2 separate regions of the Homo sapiens genome follow, and region 1 is linked to region 2. Evidence: promoter capture Hi-C in 16 types of primary human blood cells and fetal thymus (Javierre and others, 2016). All regions are on one chromosome and are shown on one strand. The core of a region is centred on a gene start or on the middle of the fragment in contact, and the rest is flanking DNA. Distances in the headings are between cores, read along the strand shown. Region 1 holds the start of REC8 (REC8 meiotic recombination protein). Region 2 overlaps KHNYN (KH and NYN domain containing).

Region 1 (6,252 bases), core at 2,508-5,007, 270 kb before region 2:
AAAAAAAATTTTTTTTTTCGGCTGGGCGTGGTGGTTTATGTCTGTAATCCTGGCACTTTGGGAGATCGAAGTGAGAAGACTGCCTTAGCCCAGGAGTTTGAGACTAGCCTGGGTGACATAGTGAAACCCTACTTCTACAAAAAATTCTTTTTTTTTTTTTTGAGACAGAGTCTCACTCTGTTGCCCAGGCTGGAGTGCAGTAGTGCAATCTTGGCTCACTGCAACCTCCACCTCCTGGGTTCAAGTGATCCTCCTGCCTCAGCCTTCTGAGTATCTGGGATTACAGGTGCGCACCGCTATGCCAGGCTAATTTTTGTATTTTTAGTAGAGACAGGGTTTCACCATGTTGGCTAGGCTGGTCTCGAACTCCTGACTTCAGGTGATCTGCCCACCTCAGCTTCCCAAAGTGCTGGGATTACAGGCGTGAGCCACTGCACCTGGCTCCCAAAAATTCTTAAAAATTAGCCAGGTGAGGCCAGGCATGGTGGCTCACACCTGTAATCCTTGCACTTTGGAAGGCCCAGGTGGGTGGATCACTTGAGGTCAGAAGTTCGAGACCAGCCTGACCAACATGGTGAAACCCCATCTCTACTAAAAATATAAAAAAAATCAGCTGGGCATGGTGGCACATGCCTATAATCCCAGCTACTTGGGAGGCTGAGGCAGGAGAATCACTTGAACCCAGGAGGCAGAGGTTGCAGTGAGCCAAGATCGTGCCATTGCATTCCAAGCCTGGGCATCAAGAGCGAAACTCCATCTCAAAAAAAAAAAGTGGGGGAAAAAAAAAAGCCAGGTGTGGTGGTGTGTGCCTATAGTCCCAACTACTTGACCTCCTAAAGTGCTGGGATTACAGGTGTGAGCTACTATACCTGGCCTCCTTCCGTTTTCTATCATACCCCACATCCAATTCATCAGCAAATCCTGTCGCTCGCTATTCCTTCAATATGTATCCAGGGTCTGACCACTTCTCTCTGTTCCCATCAGCAACACTTTGGAACAAACTACCACCATCTCTCATGTCTCCTCCTCTGCTTCCTTCACATCTGTTTCCACACGTGTCTACCTTAAGCTATTCTCAACACAGTAGAGATTCTTTTCACATGTAATTCTGATCATGTCACTCCTCTGCTCAGAACCTTCCAGTGGGTCCCAAATCACCCAGGGTAAAAGCCCAAATCCCCATAAGGACCTCTGAGGTCCTGTGATGCGACCCTACCCTCCTCTCTCTCTCTCTCTCGCCCCTTGCCATTCTTCCCCTGTCACTTTGCTCCAGGCTCCTTGAACCCACCAAACACATTTCTACCTCAGGGTCTTTGCATTTGCTGGTTCTTTTGTCTAAATTACTCTTCCTTCAGGTAGGCACATGACTTACCCACATTCTTCAAATTTTATCTCTTAAGAGAGGGGGCAAGGCTTCCCTGAGTACCCTCCCTAAATAGCAGCCGTCATTATTCTATCCTCCTATGCTGCCTCATTTTCTTCATAGCACTTACGGCCACTTCATGTATTTCTTTTTTTCTTTCTTTCTTTTTTTTTTTTTTTTTGACAGAATCGCCCATGCTGGAGCACAGCAGTGCAATCATGGCTCACTGCAGCCTCGACCTTCGGCTCAATCGATCCTCCTGTCTCAGCCTTCTGAGTAGCTGTGACTATAGGCATGTAATTTGAGAGGCCGAGGCGGGTGTCACCTGAGGTCAGGAGTTTGAGACCAGCCTGGCCAACATGGTTGAAACCCTGTCTCTACTAAAAATACAAAAAAATTAGCCAGGCATAGTGGCACATGCCTGTAGTCCCAGCTACTCAGGAGGCTTAGGTAGGAGAATTGCTTGAACCCAGGAGGCGGAGGTTGCACTGAGCCAAGATGGTCCATTGCACTCCAGCCTGGGCGACAAGCAAAATTCCATCTCAGAAAAAAAAAAAAAAAAAAAAAAAAAAAACTCTCAAATTGAAGGGGACTGTAAGAAGATAGGGTCAGCTCAGCTGCAGTAAGATATAAGTCTCAGGAAGAAGCATGCTCTGGAGTCAAGGCAGAGAAGGACATTCTAGGCCAAAGAAATGGCTGTGCAAAGGTAGGAGGCATAGGGACAAGGGTTATTATTACAACTGTACCTCTTAAATTTACACAATAATTGTTGAGAATATGGCTTTTCCAGGCTAGGAAGTTGTGCTGCATCCAAAAATGCTAAAGTCTATTTCAGCCGGGAGAACACTGACAGCTGGGAAAGGACCACACGTGGCGTGCCCATAACCTAAGTTGTTCAGATTTAGGAAGTGACCCCAGTAAGTCCTTTCGGAGTTTCGTGTAAGATTGACTTCTTCAGCTGGGGGCAGTGGCTCACGCCTGTAATCCCAGCACTTTGGGAGGCCAAGGCGGGCGGATCACCTGAGGTCAGGAGTTCGAGACCAGCCTGGCCAACATGGTGAAACCCCTGTCTCTACTAAAAAATACAAAATTTAGCCAGGTGTGGTGGTGGGCGCCTGTAATCCCAGCTACTCGGGAGCCTGAGGCAGGAGAATCCCCTGCACCGGGGAGGCGGAGGCTGCAATGAGCTGAGACTGCGCCACTGCACTCCAGCCTGGGTGACAGAGTGAAACTCCATCTCAAAAAAAAAAGAAACCAGCCTGGCCAACATAGTGAAATCCCGTCTCTTCTAAAAATGCAAAAATTAGTTGGGTGTGATGGAGGGCGCCTGTAATCCCAGCTACTCAGGAGGCCAAGACACGAGAATCGCTTGAACCTGAGGGGATGGGGGGCAGAGGATGCAGTGAGCCGAGATTGCCGAGATAGCGCCACTGCATTCCAGCCTGGGCAACAGTGAGAGCCTCCATCTCAAAAAAAAAAAAAAAAAATGGACTTCTTCCTCATTGACCTGTGGTGGCTCCAAGGCCATCAAAAAAAAAAAAAATGGACTTCTTCCTCATTGACCTGTGGTGGCTCCAAGGCCATCATCTCACAGCCTTTTTTTTTTTTTTTTTTTTTGAGACGGAGTCTTGCTCCCTTGCCCAGGTTGGAGTGGAGCTGCATGATCTCGGCTCACTGCAACCTCCGCCTCCCAGGTTCAAGCATTCTCCTGCCTCAGCCTCCTGAGTAGCTGGGATTACAGGCGCGTGCCACCACGCCCAGCTAACTTTTGCATTTTTAATAGAGACGGGGTTTCACCATATTGGTCAGGCTGGACTCGAACTCCTAACCTCATGATCCGCCCGCCTCGGCCTCCCAAAGTGCTAGGATTACAGGCGTGAGCCACTGCGCCCGGCCTCATCTCACATCTTTCTTCCTCTGCAGCACACGACACGCCCTAGTTGGAAACAAAGTCGGAGTTTGTGGATTGGGGGAAGGGCGGGGTCTAACCTCAGGTCAGGCGCCGTGCAAGGTACATCTTGGCACCCGGAAGAGGCCCAGTACAGTTGCCCCCGAGGTGACCCGACCTCCCCTACCAATTGAGGCGCCCTTGTTGCCAGGCTTGCGGCGGGGGAGCGGCGGGGGAGCGACGGGGATGCGCTCATTGGTCAAGGAAGGGGCGCCTGTTACTAGAGGCGAGAACCGGAGCCCATTGGTCGGAACACCTCACAATGGACCCCAGCGGCGCGCAAAATCCTTATGATTGGTTTGCTGGCTGCCTCGGGAGACCCTGTTGCCAGGATACTTGGCGTTCCCGACCCGACCCCCGTTCCCCATTGGCTGTCAGGGCAAAAGCCGCCATCTAATGAGGAGCGAGGTGCGGTGCCCCGAAGCGCTCGCTTCCCGCGGTGCGATCTAGTCCTGCAGTAGGCGGCCCGGGGCCACACCGCGGCCGCCCAAGCCAGTGCAAGGCCCAGGGGCCTGACATCGCTCCCAGCGCTCGAGGACCGAGGCCTGCTGTGGAGGACACCGTGCTCCCTCGGGACCTGCTCTGGATTCCGGCCCGGACGTCCCCTTGGAGCTCTGCATCTCCAACCTGGAACCCAACCCAGAAGTCTCAAGTTTGACGCATCACGTGGCGTGCGGATCCACTGAGGGTCCACAGAGAGGGGCGCCCATCTCCTGCGTCTCAGTTATCCTGGTAATTGTGTATCTGCCCATTGTTCGTTGCCTCATTAACTTGGCTTTCTAGGTGCACCCACCTTGCCACCAGAGAAGTCCAAATCCTGACTTCTCTCCAAGGTGTTGGGAATTCTGTGCCCTAAAGAATTCCGACTCAGATCCGAACGGGGATCTGGTGGAATCGAGGGTGAAAGACCAGAGGGACAATGTTCTACTATCCCAACGTGCTTCAGCGCCACACCGGCTGCTTTGCCACCATCTGGTAAGGGCGGGGCCCGTTGGCGCGCGATGGCGGACGCTGCCCGGGATCCCAGCCTGACAGCTCCCCCTCCATCCCCATTCTCCCACCTTCCCCACCCACTTCAGGCTGGCGGCGACTCGCGGCAGCCGGTTGGTGAAGCGCGAATACCTGAGGGTGAATGTGGTGAAAACCTGGTAAGGCCCAGAAAAGGGAAGGAGGGCCTGGTGCGGGGGGTGAGTTAGGGGATGGGGTGGCCAAGACTGTGGGCCCACTCCTGGACGCAGCGGTAATCAGGGCGCATTGTTCCCCAGCGAGGAAATCCTCAATTACGTGCTGGTACGAGTGCAACCCCCGCAGCCCGGCCTGCCGCGGCCCCGCTTCTCCCTCTATCTCTCAGCCCAACTTCAGATCGGTGTGATCCGCGTCTATTCTCAACAATGCCAGTACCTCGTGGGTAAGGCTGGGAACCCTCAAAGGTGGGGCGGGCTGAGCAGCTGTCTGCTAAGCTGGCTGTCTACCTCGTCCTCCCTGCCCACAGAGGACATCCAGCACATCTTGGAGCGCCTCCACCGTGCCCAGCTGCAGATCCGAATAGATATGGAGACTGAGCTGTGAGTGTGCCCTGGGCCTTTGATGGAACACCTGCTAGCTTGGCCTCAGCCTGGCTCAGCCTCAGTCCTTCACGGCCTACATTCTCTCCCAGACCCAGCCTGCTGCTTCCTAACCACCTGGCCATGATGGAGACCCTAGAAGATGCTCCAGATCCCTTTTTTGGGATGATGTCTGTGGATCCCAGACTTCCTAGTCCTTTCGATATCCCTCAGGTAGGGCTCATTCCCCAAGACTCGTGAATTGGCAATGCAGAAGGGGAGTGCTGTCCCTGTGTCACTCTGACATTGGGGTTGGGGAAGGAAGCTTACCACAGCTCTCTCCCACAGGAGATGGTGCAGGGGGACTGCCAAGGTGGACCCATCCAGGCGAAGCCCCCTGTACTTACCTACTCAGGGCCAATCTGATCAGACGGTTTCCCCACTGGAGGCAGCTCTTGTCCCCACTTGTCTCCACACTGTTTTCACTGCCAAGGCCCTAATCCAGGCTCTCATCTCTCTGCACTGGGCTTTCTTACCCCTGTCCTCCTCCATCTATTCCCAATACTCCTACAGCTTAATGTCACCCCCTTCCTTGGTTCCCCATTTGAACAGTGGCTCCTGCTGCAAACAGATTACTAGCATTTGGGGCTCTCCATGCCCCATTTATTTCTTTTTTTATTTTATTACTATTATTATTATTATTTTTGAGACAGGATCTTGCTCTGTGGCCCAGGCTGGAGTGCAGTGGCACGATCTCAGCTTACTGCAACCTCTGCCTCCCCGGTTCAAGCAATTCTCCTGCCTCAGCCTCCCGAGTAGCTGGGACTACAGGCATTTGCCACCATGCCCAACTGATTTTGTATTTTTAGTTGAGACAGGGTTTCACCATGCTGGCCAGGCTGGTTTCGAACCCCTGACCTCATGATCTGCCTGTCTCCTCCTCCTGAAGTGCTGGGATTACAGACATGAGCCACAGAGCCCGGCCCAATTTTTTTAGGGTTTCGCCTTATCGGCCAGGCTGGTCTCGAACTCCAGACCTCAGGTGATCCACCCACCCTGGCTTTCCAAAGTGCTAGGATTACAGACGTGAGCCATCGCGCTGGCCTATTATTATTATTTTTTGAAATGGAGTCTCTGTCACCCAGGCTGGAGTGCAGTGGCATGATCTTGGCTCACTTCAACCTCCGCTTCCTCTGGTCAAGCGATTCTCCTGCCTCGGCCTCCCGAATAGCTGGGATTACAGATGCCTGCCACCATGCCCGGCTAATTTTTGTATCTTTAGTAGAGATGGAGTTTCATCATGTTGGTCAGACTGGTCTTGAACTCCTGATCTCAGGCACTCCACCCGCCTCGGCCTCCCAAAGTGCTGGGATTACAGGTGTGAACCACCGTGCCTG
Region 2 (6,272 bases), core at 3,625-6,124:
ACGCTGTTTCTAAGCCTTGGTGGTGGGTAAGGGGCCAGTTATTCCTCTGTGTGCCTTATGATTGGGTAGGTAAACCTGCCCTGCAGGTGTGATGAGATGAACTGTAGACAACCATGTTTGTCTATTCATCATTCATCAAACAAAATGATACCTTGTATTTATATAGTGCCTTACTGTCTAGAAAATACTGGTTTAGTGGAAAGGTGGGAAAGCTGGTTACATAAGTAGCTGACAGATGTCTTCTTATAACCTGAATTTCCAAACATGCAGAGAAATTTCCCTAACATTCTGGAAAAACCAGAGTAAAGGTCAAAATAACAAGTAAAATGGAGAAACACAACGCATGAATAATAGGACTGTACAAAACATGGTATAATAGAAAGATCACTGGATTTAGAATTGGAAGATCTGAATTTGAGCCTCAAGTAGCACTACTCATTGACTTTGACTGTGGAACTTTTCTTAGTGAATTAACCTCTTTGTCTCAGGGTCCTCCTCCATTCATTTACCCTCCTTGTGAATATACGAAAAAGATAAGGTATGTGCTTGCCTTGCTCAAGGTGCTAGGCAAGAGTACAGTGACATTCCATCCTAACTTTGCACAGACCTACTCAAGTGTGGCAGCGGGTATATCTCCAATCTACAGTCGTGGAGACAGAGGGTCAGAGTGGTTACCTGTCTTAGCAAAGGGGAATTAGACCTCAAAGCTGCCAGATGGTTTGAATGAAAATACAAGGCACACTTCTACCATAGTCTGCCTAGGTGGTGTGAGAAATGAGCAGATTTTAGAAAGCCAAGTTAAAAAATTTACAAGTTCTTTATTCTCTAGGACATTATACAGTTTTTAAAAATTAGTTTTTCCAAACCATAGTGATTATATACTTTGTCTTTTCAAACACTTACCTTCTATTCCTTAACAAGCAAATGGTATTCTACAAAAAAGCAGTTTACGTTCTCCCAATGTTATTCTATTTATATCTAGATGTCACAGATTACCCAAGATATGGAATCTTCTTTCCACACCTGCATTGAAACAGAATTGAAACTGAAGATTGAGTTCGTTTTAATGAATGTTAAAGGCATGTGTCTGCCCAGTTGTGTGGGACCTGGTTGGCAGATAACATAATATAAATTGGGAATTCGCCCAGTAACAGTGAATAAGCACAGTGGTACACAGCGTAGGCATACGGAATGAATGTTGCTGAACAACATACTGTGTAATGCGATCATAGTAAAATATGCTTAACTGGAAAATACCATTTGCATACCATAAGTGTACCATATAATTTTTTTTTGGTTTGTTTTTGAGACGGAGCCTTGCTCTGTCGCCACGCTGGAGTGCAGTGGCACGATCTCGGCTCACTGCAACCTCTGCCTCCCAGGTTCAAGTGATTCCCTTACCTCAGCCTCCCGAGTAGCTGGGACTTCAGGTGCATGCCACCGTGCCCAGCTAACTTTTTGCATTTTAGTAGAGATGGGGTTTCACCATGTTGGCCAGGGTGGTCTTGATTTCCTGACCTCATGATCCGCCCACCTCAGCCTCCCAAAGTGCTGGGATTACAGGCGTGAGCCACCAAGCCCGGCCATAGACATTTGTATGTCATTCCCTTAATTTGTTTCCCAGACAGAAGCTCAGAGCCTGATATCTGTCACACCTAATCCTGACTCCCAGTTCCCCCTATACCACACTATCTTTCAAATACTGACTGCTCACTTAGTACTAGGTGCATGGCCTGCAGGAGGAGGTGGGAACACTGGGAACAAGATCTGATTCTTGACTAGAGAGCCGAAAGAAACCATAAATCAAACACTACAGGAACTCAGAGGGAAAGGAGCCCCATTCTGGCTGGGGTTTTGTGGGAAAGGAGAGATTTGTGAGTTTTTGTGTTGAGAAGACTGGGATGGGTTGGATCTCTGTTTCTAAATCTGTTAAAAAGACCACCACCCATCACTTCATGAGTCCTACCCTGTCTTGTGGAATCAGAATTACTGAATGGAGCCCAGGCATTTTTTAAAAAAGTTCCCTTGGTAATTCTGTTCCTTAGCAAGTCTTGGGAAGTGCCTTCCAGATAGAGGAAATAGTTGGAGAAATATGGAAGTCAGCATAAGACATATGTGGAGAGCAGAGTGTAATCTGATTATTGATTTTAGCTGGAGTTGAGAGTGGGTTAGGGAATATTGGGAGAGATAAGGCTGTAAGGGTGATTTGAGCTGGCCTGTAGAAGGCCTTAGCTGCCAGGCCTGGGTGTGTGGACTTTATTTGGTAAATAAAGGGCAAGTGTGGAAGAGTTTTGTGTAGGTGATAAGCATGCTTTCTTGGGGCAGGGCAGGGGAGACTGGAGGGTGGGTGAGTGGTCAGAGGCGGGGACCCCCTTGTTAGGAGGTTATGCATAATCTCAGTTGCAATATCTGAATTACTGGGGTGGTAATGGTGGGCCTGGGAAGGAAGGGAGCAGAGCACAAGGCTTTTCAAAGGAAAGGCATGTTGGATTTGCAAGGGATTGGTTGGGCAGGGTGGAAGACAGAGCTAGATCTTACTGTTTACTAACGAGGCACAAAGTGTTGGGTGAAGGACTATGGTTGGCAGATAGGATGCTACTGGGAGACCACCTTGGATTCATCTTTGTTTCCTCTCTAGGCCATGGCACTTGCATCTAGTCAGTTGCCTGTAGCTGGGTCAAGGTGAGGTAGGGGGCCAGATCTCCATCACCAGAAGTGGCCTATGGGAGACAGTAAAACTTCTGGGGTTGGGGCCTTGGAGAGTCCCAAATGGTTGCTGTGGTTTTTACTTTTATTTTTGTAGATTTGGGGGATACCAATACAGTTTTGCTACATAGATATATTGCATAGTGGTGAAGTCTAGGCTTTTAATGTAACCATGATCCAAACAGTGAACATTGTACCCAGTAGGTAATTTTTCAACCCTCTCTCGGTTGCTGTGGTTTTGGAGACAGGTTCATGGTGAAGCTGGCTGAAGAGACAGATGGGATAATTGTCTCCAATGACCAGTTCCGGGACCTGGCGGAGGAGTCTGAGAAGTGGATGGCAATCATCAGAGAACGGTGAGGGAGCCCTCCCGCTGAGAACTGGGCACAGATGCAGATGTTTTTCTAAAGCCAGCTCTGCTCTGGCCATGGGGTGAAAACTCTGGGAAGGAGGTGAAGTTTTCTTGAAGGATGGAGCCAGCAGCTTCTGGTGATACTGGTCTCGGTTGTCTGGGAGGTGGGCAAGGGCCCCCTCTGTGACCACACATTATCTTTCGCCATCCAGCCTGCTGCCCTTTACCTTTGTGGGAAACCTCTTCATGGTACCTGATGACCCACTGGGGCGAAACGGCCCCACCCTGGATGAATTTCTGAAGAAGCCAGCCAGGTAATCAATCCCCTAGACTACTTACAGGCAGCCCCCACCCCTGGCCCTCTCTCAGCAGGCCCAGAGACTTGGGTGGAAGTGTGACCTCAGTTTGGGCCAGCTTAATTTTGCAGTGGTTTGAGTTGCATTGGCCTTGGCCTTTATAAGCTTCCCAGGGGATCCTGACATAGAACCTCCTTGCTGGGAGGGAAACACCTGCTTCCTGTTTCTCTTAATCAGCATGTTTGATGGAGTTATTTGGAAAATGGTTGCTTATACTGACAGCCAGTTGTATTCAGCATGCCTTCTGCTGACCATTACATAAGTGATTCATTTAGGACTAGAACTAGATCATAATAGTGGCAGAGTTCACCCTGTTTCTAAAAGAACGGCCCATCTTCCCTTCAGAAGTGGGTTGATACTGCCACTCAGTGGTCAGCTTCAGGAACTTCAGGATTTCTCCCCCAAAGCCAGGAATAGGCAGGACAATTACGAGAGGGGTGCCCACTAAGATCTAATTTCCCCCCCAGGATGCTCATCAGCTCTTTTTGGTCTGTTTCTTCCCAGGACACAGGGGTCTTCTAAGGCTCAGCATCCTTCCAGGGGCTTTGCAGAACATGGTAAACAGCAGCAGGGGAGAGAAGAGGAAAAAGGTAGTGGTGGCATTCGGAAGACCCGGGAAACAGAGCGGCTCCGGCGGCAGCTGCTGGAGGTGTTTTGGGGTCAGGATCACAAAGTGGACTTCATCCTGCAGCGGGAGCCATACTGCCGGGACATCAACCAACTGTCTGAGGCCCTGCTCAGTCTTAACTTTTGAGCCTCACCTGCTTGAGTGGCTGCCGCCCTGTCAGCTCCAGCCGCCTCCAGCTCAGCCCTTTCTGTGAGAGTCCCTCTGCTGCTCACTCTGATCCAGAGGCACCCTGAGTTGGTGCTTTGGATCAGGGAAGCCACTTTGGGACAGGTCCATAAAGTGAACTGATCTTACCGAGTCAGGACCTCAGCCAGCTCTCAAGAGGTTCTGCTCAGCCTTAACTTCTCAACTTTGCCTTAGCACAGGGTTTCTGTAGGGAGTGGGGGCTGCTAGAGGGGATTAGTTCCGGAGACTGAGACTGTTGGCTCCACCTCCAAGCTGAGCTAGGGTGGAGGGCAGGGTGGGCAGGAAGTGACAGGAAGTTAAGCTGTTCCTCTCCCTGGCTGCTGCTCTGGATGGCCAGAGAACAAGATGCTCCCTTGCTGAGCTCCTGGGAGCGTGGAAGGAGATGCTAGGCCCTGGCACAGTGTTATGTGGACTGGGCCACGATAGGGTGGAGTGAGCTAGTGAAGAAGGCAGAGGGAGACTTGGCTTCTGGTCTCAGCTATGCCTGTTTTGTGACCTTGATTGAGTTGCTTGGGCTTTACTTCTGCCTACAAATCAGGGGTAAAAATACCTGTTGGGAGGAGAAATGAGAACATAGAGGAAAGCCTCTTGGAGGAAAGGTGCTTGGACCAAGTCTCAGGTGTGTCTGCCTGTGGCTGCACAGGCTCTCTAACCGAAACCTCACTTTCAGAGAGATGTGGGTCCTTTGTCTCCAGGATCCACACCCTAGATTTTAACACTGCATTCTCACTATAACGTGCCCTATAATGGCTGCATCCCTTTTGAGCAACCTCCAAAATCTACATTTACACAGTAGGTAAATTAGGGATGACTGCATTATCAAAATACTCTCAGGGTTCCTATAAATGGCAGCTCTCCTGTTGTATTCAGGTGTTGTTTACAGACTAACAAATGTGTTGGCAAATCCCTGGTTAGATGCACTTCCTGGTGTTGAGATGAACACGTCGATTTTTCACCAATCGATGAAGCCATGCTCTGCAATGACAATATTAATGTGATCCGACCCTAACATTTTCTCTATGGAAGACGTATGTTGCATAAAGCAAGGCACACTTCTGCTTTATGTGTGTGTGTATGGGGATGGGAGGACTTAACGGAAGTTGAACCAGTTGGTTCTAGATGAACCAATTATCTGGAAAATGAAAGAACCAGAGTTGGAAGGCACTTGACTGGCCACCAGACCAACTCTGCTGTTACTGACATGCTTTCTTCACCCTGATTCCTAGAGGTCATTGCCCTGGATCTGCTTGAAGTCCTCCTGTGCCAGGGAATTTACTATCTCCAGGGTAGCACATTCCCTGTGTAGACGGTATTAATCAGTACTCCTTACTTTAGTGCAGCCTAAAGTATGCTTTTCTGTTACATCCACCTTTGAGGCTGGTCATACCTCCAGGAACAATACAGAGCCAGTCAACTTCCTGGAATCCAAGACCAGATAAAGAAGTAGGACAGGTGCCCCTGGGTTCTGTTCTGTGTGGGCCTGTGGGGAGTCTCTAGACAAGATCTTTTCCAGGCCCTGACTTCTGCCTCCCTCTGAGTGGCACAGGGAGTTGAATACTGCATGGCGAGTGTAATGATGATGGGGAGGGTCCTTGTGTCCTCACCCCTTCCTTTTTGGTGATTTACACCACTGTACCATACTGACCCAGGCTGGGGGCAGGTGTGTTGGAGACAGGCTGGTCAAAGAGGTGACAATGATTAAGAGATAACCCAGCGGTCCCTGAGAAGAGATTGGTTAGTATGGCCTGAACTGGTGGCTGGGGGAACTGTGTCTGGTCAAGTTATGGCAGATGTCACAGCTTTAGGTAGGTAAAAAGGGTCCTAGATGAAAACCTTGGAGTTTTTTTTTTTCCTGATAGGGTTGTTTATACTTCTTGATTGGTTTCTTGCCATTTTCACTTTCAGTGATGGTGGGTGTGCAGTAGACCAAAAGTGTCTTCTGCCCTTTTGTGCTAAGGGCCCTGGTTGACTGAGTGGCCCCAGTCAGATGAGAGGCAAGTCCTAAGCTTCTTATAGACAGGGATGTTGACTTTGTTCTGCTGCA

Evidence for each region. Contacts are between HindIII fragments. The CHiCAGO score rates a contact against its expected background, and 5 or more counts as called.
Region 1: the fragment with the promoter of REC8 here is called in contact with a fragment that was not itself captured in region 2 in 12 of 17 cell types (naive CD8 T cells, total B cells, neutrophils and 9 more); the score reaches 13.3 in naive CD8 T cells.

What each region holds. Positions count from the first base shown.
Region 1 is chr14:24,168,323-24,174,574 of GRCh38, forward strand. It overlaps REC8 (REC8 meiotic recombination protein), which reads left to right and starts at 3,758. Exons shown (of 19, transcript NM_001048205.2): 1 at 3,758-4,286; 2 at 4,391-4,459; 3 at 4,577-4,719; 4 at 4,804-4,876; 5 at 4,969-5,089. The coding sequence starts at 4,231. RefSeq lists enhancers at 3,170-3,670, 3,739-3,988 and a silencer at 3,519-3,568. The HindIII fragment of the contact is 5,740 bases long and covers 1-5,178 here.
Region 2 is chr14:24,433,118-24,439,389 of GRCh38, forward strand. It overlaps KHNYN (KH and NYN domain containing), which reads left to right. Exons shown (of 8, transcript NM_015299.3): 6 at 2,955-3,062; 7 at 3,271-3,372; 8 at 3,919-6,272. The coding sequence ends at 4,168. Among named protein-coding and RNA genes, the nearest start is that of KHNYN, 6.3 kb to the left of the region's middle. The HindIII fragment of the contact is 2,715 bases long and covers 3,518-6,232 here.